2 separate regions of the Homo sapiens genome follow, and region 1 is linked to region 2. The links are contacts of gene promoters, found by promoter capture Hi-C in human tissues and cell types (Jung and others, 2019). All regions are on one chromosome and are shown on one strand. The core of a region is centred on a gene start or on the middle of the fragment in contact, and the rest is flanking DNA. Distances in the headings are between cores, read along the strand shown. Region 1 overlaps SLC45A4 (solute carrier family 45 member 4). Region 2 holds the start of GPR20 (G protein-coupled receptor 20).

What was found. Contacts are between HindIII fragments. The study calls those that stand out against the background at their distance.
Region 1: a fragment that was not itself captured here is called in contact with the fragment with the promoter of GPR20 in region 2 in 2 of the 25 tissues and cell types used here (H1 embryonic stem cells and mesendoderm cells).

What each region holds. Positions count from the first base shown.
Region 1 is chr8:141,221,775-141,226,577 of GRCh38, forward strand. All of the region lies in intron 2 of SLC45A4 (solute carrier family 45 member 4), which reads right to left. Among named protein-coding and RNA genes, the nearest start is that of SLC45A4-AS1, 30 kb to the right of the region's middle. RefSeq lists enhancers at 1-693, 694-1,432. The HindIII fragment of the contact is 4,890 bases long and covers 1,109-4,803 here.
Region 2 is chr8:141,364,192-141,368,907 of GRCh38, forward strand. It overlaps GPR20 (G protein-coupled receptor 20), which reads right to left and starts at 3,095. Exons shown (of 2, transcript NM_005293.3): 1 at 3,010-3,095. RefSeq lists an enhancer at 3,858-4,407. The HindIII fragment of the contact is 55,577 bases long and covers 1-4,716 here.

The DNA.
Region 1 (4,803 bases), core at 2,304-4,803, 140 kb before region 2:
ACACGAGGGCCGTCGCACACGCAGGCACTGGCCGGGCTCTGCCACAGTTTTCCTGGGAGCCCCGCGACAGGCAGGTGCCTCTGTGTACACGCACGCATGCGCACATCCCCTGCTCAGGTTGTCTCCACGGGGTAGACTTTCCTTTTTCTGCAAGGCCAGATGACCTGAAATCAACCCAGCCCCAGCTGTAAGCATCAGATGGCCAGAGAAAAGCAGCCAGGCCTTGGAGTGCCAGTGGGCTCCACCTGCACTGGCCCGAGCCTAAGGGGCAGCACACACTGACTGTGCAGGCACATGGAGGGCGCCCCGCCCAGGGCTGGACACAGGGCTGAGCCCCTCCACACTGCTGGTGCTGTCCAGGGCCTCAGGGCTGCTGAAGGCCACTTTGAGGGTGGCAGGCACAGGGCCACTGTCCCTTGACACCAGACAGTCTACAAGAGCAGGACGGTGACTGCAGCTTCACAGAGGCAGGAAGGGCCCACGACTTCTAGACCTCACTGGCTGAAAATGTACCATGGAGGGTCCTGCAGAGGGTCCCCACAGCCAGCAAAAGGCTGTTCTGTGTGGCCACTGAGTGGGGGCAGGGGGATGCACCATGAGTGTCTCCAGCTGGAGCCAAGGGGTTGCAGATGGCACCTGTCATGCTCACATTCTCCTTCCTGACCACCCAGGGAGGTAGGAAATATGGTGCCTATTGCAGACAGAGAAACTGAAGCTCAGAGAGGTTAAGTAATCCACCCCAGGTCACACAGCTAGGATTCCAGCCCAGGGCTACCTGATTTCAAACTCTGTCCCTGAGTTGACACGCTGCCTCCCTATCACAGAAACCCGCGTGTCCATCACCAACCAGGCGGGCAAACAGTGTCGGCAGTCACAAGCACCACAGCACGGGAACGAGCGGCCGCCTTGTGCAGCCGTGAGCACGAGCCCACTCACAGCGCTGAGCGAAGCAGCCACACAGATGACCACGCACCTCTGACGCCTGTCGTGTGATGTCCAAAGGCGCGGAAAGGACCCTCCACTGTGAGAACTTGGGTGCCGGTTGCCCTTGGCAGGGGGCAGGGGGCAGTGGCTGAAGCGGGGTCGGGTGTCTGTTCTTGATCTGGATGGGAGTCCCACGCTCCAGTCACGCGGTGCCAATTCATCCCACAGGGGACTTGAGATCTGTGCCCTCTCCCCATACTATACGTCAGTAAAACACTTCCTTACGAAATAAAGGTGCTTGGCACGCCAGCGGCTCATCTGGCTAACATTGTACACTGCCAAAAGCCATTGAGAATATTGTGTTGAGCTAGCAAGAAAAATAAACTTGTGTGGGAGGAGGAAATCATTTTCAGAGGAGGAGGGAAGCACCTTTCAAAATTATTGCTAATGTGCTCACTAAAACATGTATGCATTCGGCCGAGGATTTAAGGTGTTTGCTTTGACCTTTGCACTGCACACAACTTCAGGAAGGGTACATTTTATTCCTACTCGGAGTCAGCAGAAAGGACTGATGTTTCAGGAAACGAGAAGTATGTGACGCGTGTCCGCTGGATGGGTGAGAGTTTACACGGCAGACCCGGGTTCCTCAGCTTCACCGGAACTGAGTCCCTGCCCTTGTTAATAATGATCCATCAGGAAGCCTATTTCTCAGAAAAGTCTCTTTATCAAAACTACGCAGAGGGCGCAACACTCAAAACCTCAGAAAGAATGGGAAGCGGTCATTACTCCCACCACATGCAGACTGTACCAATGTATGTCGGCAAACCCGTGCCAGGCAGCCCCTCGCAGAGCTGCGGAGCCTGTGTGCGGTCCTGGCTCCTCTGGATTGGGCACCCAGAAGGGCTCTCGGTGCCTCCTGTAGCAGCGCGCTGGTTCTCACCTCCCTGCCTGGGAACCCCTCCTGCTGTCCCTTTTCAAACTCCTTGGGGGCCATCCACCCAGGAGGCCCCCGCCAACCCTGCGCACGCCAGGTCCTGCGTTTTCCACACAGCATTGAAGCCACCTCGGCCACCCACATGCACTCACGAGAGACCGTGCCCCCAGAGGGCCGTAGCTGCTCACTCCTCTCTCTCCACCACTCACCCCAGTCTGGCACCAGATGGGACCTGTGACCCACAGAGGGCTCGAACACTAGCTGACCTGAACCAAACCACTTTACCATTTCCAGCAGTCCTCTTTCCTTTCTGAAAACTCTGACTTTTCATCTGATATCCCTTCGCTTAATCCTGAAGGATTTTCTGTAGTTTTTTTTTTTTTTAGCATTTCTAATAGGAGGGGCTCTGCTGACGACAAATGCTCTTGGATTCTGTCTGAACTCTCCTTATTACACTTACACTCTTGAAGAATATTTCTGCTGCACACAGAATTCTGGGTTAATTCCTCCCAGCCCAGATCTTCGAAGATGTGATCCACTGTGTCCTGAACCCCATGGTTTCTGACAGGGCGGCTGTGGTGATTCCCATGAGTGTCCCCTTGTATGTCATGGATCCTTTTTTCTCTGGCTGCCTTAAAGATTCTCTTTACTGCTGCTTTTCAGCAGTTTGACAATGACAAGCCTAGACAGGGATTTCTGGACACACATCCTGGTTGGGCTTTCTGGAGCTTTATGAATTTGTAGATTTATACGTTTCACCAAGTTTAGAAAACATCCCGTTCATCCCGTTACGTCTTACTTCAAAGCTGTGAGTTTTTTGGTTTTGTTTTGTTTTTGGAGACAGGGTCTTGCTGTCACCCAGGCTGGAATGCCGTGGCACAATCTCAGCTCACTGCAACCTCCGGCCTCCTGGATTCAAGCAATTCTTGTGCCTCAGCCTCTCGAGTAGCTGGGTACAGGTGTGCACCACCACACCCGGCGGCTAATTTTTGTATTTTTTGTAGAGACAGGGTTTTGCCATGCTGGCCAGGCTGGTCTCAAACTTCTGAGCTCAAGCAATCTGCCCACCTCGGCCTCCCGAAGTGCTGTGATGACAGGCGTGAGCCACTGCACCTGCCCCTGCAAAGGTTTTACATCCCATTCTCTATTTCCTTTCTTCTGGGGTTCCCATGACAGACATCAGACCTTTGAGATCATCCCTCTGTTTCCTGGAGCATTCTTCATTTCTTTTTTCAGGCTTTAATCTCTATATGATCATTTCTGTTGACATATCATGAAGTCCACTGACTCTTCTGTCCCCTCCAATCTGCTGTTAACCCCATCTGGTTCATTTTCTATTTTGATACTGTAGTTTTCAGACCTAGAATTTCCACTTGGCTCTATTTCTGTAGCTTCCATTTCTCTGCTGGGACTCTGTGCTCTCCATTCTGAGCATGTTTTCTGTCCTTGGGTGTAGTTACGCACACCCATCTGACCAGTGCGACACGCGACATCATCGTGGGTCAGCCTCCACTGCTGCCGTCCTCCAGCAACGGTCGCCTTTTCTTTTTTAAAAAAAACATGTCTAATAACATTGAGTTGTATCCTAGACACTGTGAATGATGTGTCATAGACTACACTGCTATATTCCTCTGAGAGTGTTCATGGTTTTATTTAACACGAGGGTTTGAAATTCCCGCCCCATCTCCTAACTCCACCCGAACTCTGCCTGTGGGTTCTTCAAGAAAGGCAGAGTGGAGTTAACTATCCAAGTTTCAGCCACCCTGTGTTGCGTCAACGAAGGCCAACAGTCGGGTTAAAAGCGGTGCCAAGAGAGAAACCCAGGCATTCCCTCTTCCAGCCATCACCTTCCTACTTGGTTTCTGCCCCAAGCGCTGGCTGGGTGTCAGGAGGGTGGGGAGGACCTGCAGGTGCGACCCAGCCCACCTAATCTAGAGGAGGCGCTGCGTGCACAGGCCTGTCCCGCCTTTGTGCTGCCAACCCTGGGAGCCGGGAAGACGCTGGGTCCGGAGCAGCCCTGGACCAGGCAGCCGTCCCCAGCCCAGAAGGGAGGCTTCTCACCCCGGGAGACAAGAAGGCACAGGGCACTGGGGGGAACCGCTAGGCCCGGGCCAGGCCCTCGGCTCCCAGTCCTCCTGTGGAGGCTGCTTCTCCACCCTTGTCCCACAGGCCCCTCCAGAGCCTGGTGGGACCCGGCCCCAGGCCTCCCTGGGCACCTCCACCCGCCAGCCTCCTCCCCTTTGCCCTCAGCTCTGACTCCTATAGTCCCCACAGCTGCCCCAGCCTCCGTGCGGCCCCGGCCCTGGTCTCTCCTGTGTTGCCAGCCCCCAGCCCTAGGTCAGGCCTCCCCACGCCTCTCTCTGACTCCCACTAACTCACCCCTACATCTGGCCGGCCTGCCTTGGGACCCAGGTCAGCCCCTCAAACCACACAGCTGCCATGGACTGTGCCTGGAAGCCTTGGACCGTTCCTCATGGCCTGACATCGTGATTTTAACTTTACACCCTGCGGTGTCAGGGCCCGCGTTCCAATCCTCAACAAGACACTGTGGGGCTTCCTTTCTCCATCTTTCCCCTCTGCTTGGACAACCCCAAGTCTACACGTCGGGACTGGCACTTGGCACATTCAAAGGGGATCAGTGGAGACACAGAGCCCACCGTGGCACCACCGCCCGTGCCTCCCACCCACGATGCTCAGTGCGGCGAGCAGCACACGGGCCTCCTGCTGGGGTGCTCTCAATGCTGGTGCGCAAGGTGCCCTGCCCCACGTGCTTTCCCTGGAAGGGGCGGCACGCCTTGGCACCAAGCATCTACACCCAACGACAGCTGTCGCTGCTGAACCTCTCGGTGGGCCTGGCGCCACCCCAGGTGCTGGCCTGTCCCCTCTGGAGGAATCCAGAATCTGGCCAGAGCAGGAGACCCACGACTGGGGTACACAAGGCAGGA
Region 2 (4,716 bases), core at 1,845-4,344:
AAGGGGATTCTCCGGGCCCTGAGGCCGCATGTGTGACCACGGGTCTGTGTGTGCTTGAGCCTGCACCCCAGACGGCGTGGCCCTCATGGCCTTCCAGGGCTAAAATAGCCATGATTCGGGGAACTGTCTGCCTGTTTATTTTTATGATTATTCTTGGTTTCACAGCATCTGCTTTTGAATATCATCTGCTGTTTTTGATAAGTCTGAGCCTCCGTTTCTTCCACCAAGAGGCAGGTGGGTGCTTGCTGAGCTCTCCAAATGGGGTCAGACTCACCCCAGGTCACCTAGCAAGTCCCAGGTGACCCTGGCCAGAAGCCAAGTCTTTCTCCCTGTCCCCCACGCCCACAGGCCAGGGCTCCCTCCACCCCAGTGCAGAGAGAGACGTCACTGGTGGGCACAGACTGAGCTCTGTGGGGAAGGACACCTGGGCCCCATCTGACCCGACTCTGCCTCAGTTCCACCAGCTAAGAGCCCTCTTGCTGAGACTGCGGCTCTAACGGAAACACCAGTGTCTCTGGGAGGGGCATAGCCAGTTGGAGGTCCTGCATGTCACCTGCCAGCCCCTCCCTGCCTCCCCATCATTGGGTTCATTGCTCACCTCTAGCTGGGTGTCTCTGGGAGGGGCATGGCCAGTTGGAGGTCCTGCGTGTCACCCACCAGCCCCTCCTTTCCTCCCCATCACCGAGTTCATTGCTCACCTCTAGCTGGGATAGCCGTAGCTGCAGCAGCTCCTGAAACCCCTCCCCAACCTCAGCCTCTCCAGGAGCTGCTGGGACAGGCATTCTGTCATGTGCACCTGCCTGGCCTCAGCCTGGTCCTTCCGCCTGAAGCTCCTCAGCCTGGTCCTCTCAGCCTCTTCCCTCTGCATGTGCTGTTCCTTCTGCCCGGAATGCTGTTTCTCTCCCTGTGCCACCTGGTGAAGGCTCCGGGCACCCACAGTCATTGTTCCACAGAGCTCTCCCTGAGCCCCTCTGATGCCCTAGTGCCCTGGATGCCCCTGCCCCAGGGGGAGAGCTATGATCCCACAATCTGAAGGGCACCCGCTGGGCTCATCCTTCCCAGGGTCTTATTGACTTCCCTCAAGATGCCCCTGGGTGGGTGTTTCTGGCCCCACTGTGCCTGTGGGGAACCAATACAGAGGGGCTAAGTCATGTGTCCGGGCTCACCCAGCTGGGGTGCAGGAGGGGCTGAGCTCTGCCTCAATCTGCCTGCTGGCACTTTGTCCCAGTGCCTGGGATCAGCCTTCTGCGGCACCCAGCCCTGTGTGTGGAGGGAATCAGAGGCCCCAGGCCACACAGCCCCGTGCAGTTTGGAGGTGTCAGACCAGGACTTAGACCCCAGCACTGCGGGCACAAATGGGTCCCAGGCAGACCTGGCCCCACCTTTCCGAGCTGACAGCTCAGGGTAGGGTGGGAGGTGGCTGGTCACGGCCGGGATGGGCCTCAGGACAATCAGAGGGAAGAGCGCTCCCGGCAGCAGGAAGGGCACAGTGAGCATGAAGGGCCAGAGGTGGGAAGGAGAGTCTGTGTTCAGGGCTCTGTGAGACACCGGGGGCGTGGGGAGGGCTTTGGGACGTATGGTGAGGGGATCAACTTAAGGTTCTTTGGGCCCTGACGCCCCTCCTCAGGGAGGCCCTCCAGAGCCCACAGCCCCGCACGCCTGCACCGCCTGGCTTCCTTCGCAGTGCCCTGCCACGCGCAGTTCCCTATGTCCCTGCTTTCCTGTTCGCTGTGCTTCCCTCACTGAACTGGAGTGCCTCAGGGGCCCTGGCCTTGGCTGGCCCCTCTGAGTCACTGAGTCACTGCTGAGTGATGGAGTGGATGATTTTAGAATACCCCTCTGATCTCCTTGAGCCTCAGTTTCCTCATCTATAAAGAGGAGATGCTAATACCACTTAACAAGAAGACAATGAAGCCACCCCGTGGGCTCCAGGAGCTGCTCAGAAATGGTCCAAACTGCATGGCCCCCACGCCCGGCTCTCCAGCCGCAGACCCCGCCTTTGCTGATGGGCCCACACCGTGTGGCTCAGAGAGGGGCAGCGACTTGCCACGGCCACTCAGCAGACCGCCCTGGAGCCCAGCGACTGGATGAGTCCTGGGGGGAGAGGGGAGGGAAGACCCAGGATGACCAGCTGTTGAAGGAAGAAGACAGGGCAAGTGGACAGGCCCAGCCTCCTGCGGGGTGCATTCCCCGTCCTGCGAGGTCGCCAGCTGCTCCACGTCTGCCCCGCCAGCACCCTGGCTGCTGGCCAGTTCCCAGCCCGCTGCCCCCTCGGGACCCTGTCCTGCCGCCTTCTCACAGCGCAGTCCCAGTGCGAGCTTCGCGGGGCTGGAGCCAGCTTCTAGGTCCACACTGAGGGCTGGCAAGCAAGCCTTCCCTGGGACTCAGTTTCCCCACCCCTAAGGGGTAGAGACAGCACCAAGGCTACTGCAGAGGGCCTGAGCTGTGGGATGGCAGGACGGGCACTCTGAAGAGGGAGCATGGCGCTTGGAGCCCATGCCCACAAAGCCCTCACCATGGCCCTGCCCCAGCTGCGGGGTGGTGGTGGCTGAGGCCCCAGAGCCTGCCAAGTGCCTCTGGGGTCCCCCAACTCTGTCCCTGGCTTGGCCTGTGGGCCACCCTGCTGCCTTGCCAGGTGGGGAAACCAAGACCCAGCTCTGGGCACCCAGCAGATGCTCGGTGAGTGTTGAACGGAGGGATGAATGAGTGAATGAATGAAATCCAGAGTTGGGTGGGCACCTAGCAGCGCAGCTCCCCCTTATGCAGCCAGCCCAACTCACGCCCATGTTCTCCCTCAGGTCTCTGTTTTCTCATCTGAGAAATGGCTCCCTGTCCAGCAGGACCTGCTCTGAGCTCTCCCCAGCCCGGATCTGGAGGCAGTTTCTCTGCCCTGCCCTTCCCACTCCTGCTTGGCTGGGGGTGAGAACCCCTGCAGGGAGCAGCTCAGGAGCCTCCTATCTAGGGAAGCTGGGGAGAGGGAGGCTGGGGCCAGCCCACAGGGGAACTTACCGCGCTTCACCCGGGCAGGCTGGAGATGGGAGTCCTCAGCTCTCAGCTCTGCATGCAGCCCGGACCTCGCCTTCCTACGGCCTGACGTCAGGCCAGCGCTTGGGGCTCCTTTTGGGCAAAGGCAGGGTGGGGGCGGGGCAGGCTCCTTCCCCGCCCCCAGGAGGAGTCAAGGCTCAGAGCCTGAGGGACGGTGCCTGGGGCACCAGAGTCCCCACACCCACTGGAGACAGAAGAAGAAACCGAGGCACAGAGGGGCCTGGGGCACCAGAGTCCCCACACCCACTGGAGACAGAGGGGGAAACTGAGGCACCGAGGAGCTGAGCCTCAGCTGCACCATCCAGGAGGTGGTGGCTGGCACTTGTGTGTGCCGTGTGCAGGGCAGGAGGTGGGAAACTGAGGCACGGAGGGGCTAAGCCTCAGCTGCACCATCCAGGAGACAGTGGCTGGCACTTGTGTGTGCTGTGTGCGGGGCAGGAGGGGGAAACTGAGGCACGGAGGGGCTGAGTCTCAGCTGCACCATCCAGGAGATGGTGGCTGGCACTTGTGCGTGCTGTGTGCGGGGCAGGAGGGGAAAACTGAGGCACAGAGGGGCTGAGTCTCAGCTGCACCATCCAGGAGACGGTGGCTGGCACTTGTGTGTGCTGTGTGGGGGGCAGGAGGGGGAAACTGAGGCACGGAGGGGCTGAGTCTCAGCTGCACCATCCAGGAGATGGTGGCTGGCACTTGTGCGTGCTGTGTGCGGGACAGGAGGTGGGAGCACACGAAAGCCCAATTTCCTTCCCGGGAGGGGGCATGTGCATGGTAGCTTCAGCCCACGCAAGCCTGGGTTCCTGCATGGCTCTCTGTTTTGCATGTGTCCTGGGTTTGGCTGTGTCTGTGTGTACCCATGACCGACAGCCTGCACACCTGGCATCTGGGCCTCTGTTTGCACCCATGCACCGGTGGCATGTGGCATGTGGGGTCAGGTGTGTGGGAAAGACCTGGACGTGACCCAGGCCAGCAGGTGGGGAGAGCGTGTGGGACCCGGACCTCAGTGCTGGAGGAAGCGTGAGCTCATCAACAGGCTTGATCCCAGAGGGCTGCTGGAGGGCCACTCTCCCCAGACAGCTTCAGAGCCAGGAGGCCTTGTGGCCAGCCTGGGGTGGCAGCGGGGGTTGTCGGGGAGCGGTTGGGGCCATTTAGTTAGTGTCTCCTCTGCCGAGAGCACCATCTCCTCTTGTTCCCATCCCGTGTGCTTCTGCTGATACTCACACTTTAACCTTCCAGCCGCCTGAGTGCCGAGGCCCTGCTGAGTGGGTTGTACTGCACACCGGAGACTCAGGGAAGGCTCCCCAAGGGAGGGGCTGGGCCTTCCCGAGCTCAGGCTGGTTGTAATGCAGACCAACAGGAGAGAGTAGGTGGGCCCTAGGGTCCTGACCCAGCCTGCTGGGGAGGGATGCCGTCTGGGAAGGCTTCCTGGAAGGGGCAGAGGGAGGTATAACAGGAGGCAGGCAGCCCAGATGGGCAGAGGGACAGGAGGCCATCAGAATATTTCCTGGGGAGCAAAGCTGGGAGTGGGCAGGGGACTTCTACACTGAGTCTCAGCAGCCTCTATGGGTACCAGAGTGCTGCAACAGGGAGCCATTGAAAGTTCTGGGAGAGGATGGTTTCTTCACTCTGGAGCAGCCTCCCTGCGGCTGCAGGGCTGAGCCCACAGGCTGCAATTAT